2 separate regions of the Homo sapiens genome follow, and region 1 is linked to region 2. Evidence: promoter capture Hi-C in 16 types of primary human blood cells and fetal thymus (Javierre and others, 2016). All regions are on one chromosome and are shown on one strand. Each heading gives the region's core, a stretch centred on a gene start or on the middle of the fragment in contact. The rest is flanking DNA. Distances are from core to core; before and after follow the strand shown.

What was found. The method cuts DNA at HindIII sites, captures the fragments that hold promoters and counts their contacts. A CHiCAGO score of 5 or more calls a contact.
Region 1: a fragment that was not itself captured here is called in contact with the fragment with the promoter of MYOM3-AS1 in region 2 in 2 of 17 cell types (naive B cells and total B cells); the score reaches 7.3 in naive B cells.

Annotation. Positions count from the first base shown.
Region 1 is chr1:24,632,561-24,635,260 of GRCh38, reverse strand. No RefSeq gene overlaps it. Among named protein-coding and RNA genes, the nearest start is that of SRRM1, 9.4 kb to the left of the region's middle. The HindIII fragment of the contact is 3,320 bases long and covers 1-2,700 here.
Region 2 is chr1:24,065,339-24,068,038 of GRCh38, reverse strand. It overlaps MYOM3-AS1 (MYOM3 antisense RNA 1), which reads right to left and starts at 1,277. Exons shown (of 3, transcript XR_001737930.2): 1 at 1,197-1,277. It overlaps MYOM3 (myomesin 3), which reads left to right. Exons shown (of 37, transcript NM_152372.4): 27 at 10-69; 28 at 951-1,018; 29 at 2,038-2,148. The HindIII fragment of the contact is 6,627 bases long and covers 23-2,700 here.

The sequences.
Region 1 (2,700 bases), core at 100-2,599, 570 kb before region 2:
AGGAAGTGTAAGTTAGTCCTTGGAGAGTTCATAATATTACCAGAAGAATAACAGCAACAGGCATCAGAGAAAAACGTAACATCTTTGCTTGTCATCCCATGGAAAGACCTCCACAGATGTTATATTCAAGTATTATGTTTGCTTTTTTTTTTTTTTTTTGGAGACAGAGTCTCGCTCTGTCACACAGGCTGGAGTGCAGTGGTGCGATATCAGCTCACTGCAACCTCCGCCTCCCGGGTTCAAGCAATTCTCCTGCCACAGCCTCCCGAGCAAAGCTGGGATTACAGGCATGCGGCATTATGCCAGGCTAATTTTTGTATTTTTATTAGAGATGGGGTTTCACCATGTTGGCCAGGCTGGTCTTGAACTCCTGACCTCAAGTGATATTCCCGTCTTGGCCTCCCAAAGTGCTGGGATTACAGACGTAAGCCACCGTGCCTGGCTGCATTTTTTTTCTTTTCTTTTTTTTTTTTAGATGGAGTCTCACTCTGTTGCCCAGGCTGGAGTGCAGTGGCATGATCTCGGCTCACTGCAACCTCCGGCTCCCGGGTTCAAGCAATTCTCTGACTTCAGCCTCCTAAGTAGTTGGGATTACAGGCATGTGCCAACACACTTGGCTAATTTTTGTATTTTTAGTAGAGATGGAGTTTTACCATGTTTGCTAGGCTGATCTCGAACTTTTGACCTTAAGTGATCCGCCCGCCTCAGCCTCCCAAACTGCCGAGATTACAGACGTGAGCCACTGTGCCCGGCCATGTTTGCATATATATATATTTTAGGTGGAGTCTTGCTCTGTCGCCAGGCTGGAGTGCAGTGGCACGATCTCGGCTCACTGCAACCTCTGCCTCCCAGGTTCAAGCAATTCTCCTGCCTCAGCCTCCCAAGTAGCTGGGACTACAGGCACACCACCACGGCTGGCTAATTTTTGTTATTTTTAGTAGAGACGGGGTTTCACCATGTTGGCCAGGATAGTCTCATCTCTCGACCTCGTGATCTGCCCATCTCGGCCTCCCAAAGTGCTGGGATTACAGGTGTGAGCAACCGCGCCCAGCCCATGTTTGCATATTTTTAAAACAAGAGCTGGAAGAATAAGAGCAGCACCCATCAGATGGGAAATGAAGAACCATGGTTGGAATTCCCTGTACCTGTCTATGTTCTCTCTGTATTTAGATGGCAGTACTTTTCTTTTATATGGGATTTCATAATAATAATTACCATTTTGGGGGGGTCATATTATGTCAGGCTTTGTGTTAATGCTTTAAACACTTTAGCTAATTCAGTCTTCACAATAATATCTAGCAGATTGTTACAGGCTGAATTGTCTCCCCCTCCCAACCCCTGGCCGAATTGTCTCCCCCTCTCAACCCCTGCCCTGTCCCTTCACCATCTCCAAATTCATATTGAGGTCCTAACCTCCAGTACCTTGGAATGTGACTGTATTTGGAGATAGCGTCCTTAAAAAGGTAATTAAGTTAGAATGAGACCATTAGGTGGGTCCTTATCCAATATAATTGGAGTCCTTATAAGAAGGGGAAATTGGCTGGGCACAGTGACTCATGCCTGTAATCCCAGCACTTTGGGAGGCCGAGGTGAGCGGATCACTTGAGGTCAGGGGTTCGAGACCAGCCTGGCCAACATGGTGAAACCCCATCTCTACTAAAAACACAAAAATCAGCTGGGCGTAGTGGCAGGTGCCTGTCGTCCCCGCTACTTGGGAGGCTGCGGCAGGAGAATTGTTGAACCTAGGAGGCGGAGGTTGCAGTGAGCCAAGATCGTGCCACTGCACTCCAGCCTGGGTGACAGAGCAAGACCTATCTCAAAAATAAATAAATAAATAAAGAAGAAGAGGAAATTAAGATACAGACGCACACACAGAGGGAAGACCAAATTAAGACATAAGGAGCAGACGGCCACCTATAAGCCAAGGAGAGATGCTTCAGAAGAAAACAACCCTGCTGACACTTGATCTTGGACTTCCAGCCTCCAGAACAGTGATAAAATACACTTCTGTTGCTTAAGCCACCCAGTGTGTGATACTTTGTTATGGCAGCCCTAGCAAGCTAATACATCGGTATTATTCCTGTTTTACAGATGAGTACAGTAAGGCGTGAGAAAAAGTGAGTTGTGTAAAATCACACAGGCAACATACAACAGAACTTACTTTCAGGGTTTGGTCCATCTGCTTAGGGTTAAGACCACATTACCAGTTGCTTGACATTCATGTAGGTGTTAAAGCAAATGGCTGGAGGAGGGAATATAGACAGATCTTATCTTTCTGGTGAATGAGCAAACAAGCCTTTCTTCATCTGGCCAGTGACTGCCTCCCAGCTGGTTCCCAAATCCACAAGGTGAGAGGAAGGGAAAGCCAGTGAGGCCTGTGCCAATTTTCTTCACCTTCAGGCCCAGCAACACTTGGACAGCAGGGGTCATAGTGGTCAGTGATTAAAAATCATCCTTGACTTCATTTAAAAATAATCAATAGCTCTTGTTGCTCTAAGTGGCCTTTCTTTTTTCTCTTTACCTCCCACACCCAAATTCCCTAGCTAGGCAGGGTCCTTAACACATTGTCTTGTAAATGTAGGGCTGGCTAGAGACCATTCAGCATATATGATAAACAAGACTTCTCTTTTGACCCTGGAGAATTGTAGTCCAGTTACCCATGGGCAATAGATAAAGACCCTTAGGCTGGATAGGTATGAA
Region 2 (2,700 bases), core at 28-2,527:
TGTTCACAGATTTTGACAAGCTTCTGAGGAAGGCAGATGCTAAGAGAAGGGACTGGAAGAGAAAACAGGGTAAGAGCTGCTGGGGTGAAGTTCAAAATCCCTGGCCACTGGTTCGTGCTAGAGATGCTGGACTGCGGATTAATGGGAACCCCAGCCCTGCTGGGTCCCCAAGGGAGGTCCACTGTCATTCAGTCCAGTTCTGTCCCAGTGCCAGATCAAAATAGCTCTTGCCTGACCTGAGGGTGAGAGCTGAGCCCTCTTAAATTTTGCACCCTGAAGCCAGGCACAGTGCCCCACACCTGTAATCCTAGCACTTTGGGAGGCCAAGGTGGTCAGATCACTTGAGGCCAGGAGTTCAAGACCAGCCTGGCCAACATGGTGAAACCCTATCTCTATGAAAAATACAAAAATTAGCCGAGCATGGTGGCACACGCCTGTAATTCCAGCTACTCAGGAGGCTGAGCCACAAGAATCCTTGAAACCAGGAGGCGGAGCTTGCAGTGAGCCGAGATTGCGCCACTGCACTCTAGCCTAGGCAACAGAGCGAGACTCTGTCTCAAAAATAAAGAAAGAAAGAAAGAAGGAAGGAAACAAAGGAAGGAAGGAAGGAAGGAAGGAAGGAAGGAAGGAAGGAAGGAAGGAAGGAAGGAAAAAGAAAGAAAGAAGGAAAGAAAGAAAGAAAGAAAGAAAGAAAGAAAGAAAGAAAGAAAGAAGGAAAGAAAGAAAGAAAGAAGGAAAGAAAGAAAGAAAGAAAGGAAGGAAGAAAGAAAGAAAGAAATTTGCGCTCTGAGCACCGCCCCTGCCTCACCCCAGTCCCAGCCCTGGCAGAGGCAGCATCTGAGAAGTCCATAGCCATTAGCTGTCCCTCCCCCCAGCACTGCCTGGACACAGGTGGCACCCTGGCTGAGCCTGGCTCTCTGACAGTGGGCACATTTGTTTTGCACGCACAGGTCCCTATTTTGAGCGGCCGTTGCAGTGGAAGGTCACGGAGGACTGCCAAGTGCAGCTGACGTGCAAGGCAAGTCCTGCCCTGCCCTGCCCCCAGGCCCAGTGCAGGGGGACCTGTGGCTTGTCCCCAAGCCCAGTTGCTGTCCCTGCCCACCCGGCCCCCTAAATTCCATACTCTGTGCTTGGCTGATCGCACACACAGAAAGTACCCCCGAGGAGACCACACGTAACCCAAAAAGCAAACCCACCTTCCCAGCGCCCATGGGGTAGGATTCGTGTGAGGTGGACCAGCCTTGAACGAGATCCTAGTGGCTCCAGAAGGGGTTCTGAGGGGTCAGGGGGTCTAGGAGCCCACGAGGGTTTATATGTTGAGGGGTATCCCTGTGTTTATGATTACCCTGTGCTCAGAGACTCACAGTATTATTTCATCCGCCTCACAATCATCTGTGACACAGGCATTACTATCCTCACTTCATAGATGAGAAAACAAATGGAGAAATAGCTCAAGGCCACACGGTAAGAGGGAGAGCCCAGGTTTGAACAAGTCTATCTGATTCCAAAGCCTAAGGTCCTTCTTAGCACTCTTCAGCCTGTTTAGATAACTGGGGAAGGGGAGGGTGGGTGCTCTCCCAGAAGCATATTCATTCAGTAAACTCAGAGCATCTATTTTGTGCCACTCTGCACGGTACTGAACGTACAAAGATGATGAAGTGGTCTCTGTGGGCCTTGGGAGCCCATGTTCAAGGCAGGACCATTGGAAAACAGCATCCCTCATGCTTGACCCGGATGGGGCAGGACATTGATGAATCGTGATGGAGGGGGTGACTATGGGATGCTTCAAAAAAAAGGCTTCCTGGAGGAGATGACATTTAACTGAAGCACATGGACATTTCCAAGAAAAATAGAGTAAGGCAGGGATCAAGAGGCAGAGGGAAAACCATTAGCAAGAATTCAGAGTCCAGAGGCCAGCAGAGGAGACACATGGTATGTGAAAGGACTCCACTGAGATGCCTGAAAGTGTGCACAGGTGTGTTTTTACTCAAAAAGAAACAAGCCTGACAGAGTCTCCTCATTCCCCACCTTCCCCAGGTGACCAACACCAAGAAGGAGACTCGCTTTCAGTGGTTCTTCCAGAGGGCAGAGATGCCAGATGGTCAGTATGACCCAGAGACGGGAACGGGACTTCTCTGCATTGAAGAGGCAAGTGTGGCTCCAGCTTCAGGGCTCACTTTCTCCTTTGGCTGCAAGCCAGGGAGGGCCAAGAGCTCTGGGCTGGGAGTCAGGGCAGGGCCGAGGCTAGGTTGATGCAAGTGAGGCCCTGAGCACAAAATTTAAGAGGCACCAAAAAACTCAGTAATCAAGATAAATAATATTGTATGCAATATTCTAAAAAATCAAAATTAATGCAAAAAAACTATTAAAGCCCCCAAATTTTCAATAGAGACAGAATCAGTATTACTGATTTTTTTCTTTAGCTCCAGTACTGGCCCTGCCAATGACTGTGCAGGCTTGGGCTAGCCCCCGTCGCTCTCTGACCTCAGCTTTCATCTGCAACATGAGCGGGTTGGAAGGGATGCTCTTTCAACGCCTCCTTCCTGCCCCAACAGTCTAGGAGTCGGGACAGGAAGGATGTCTCCATGTGAGGCAGATCTGGGCAGAATAAAGCAGGCCTGGAGCTCAATTCTCCCCCCAAGTCCTCCCCCATGGCCTTTGGTGGACCGTGGCCTGGTTAAGAGAGAAACACAAGGCTTG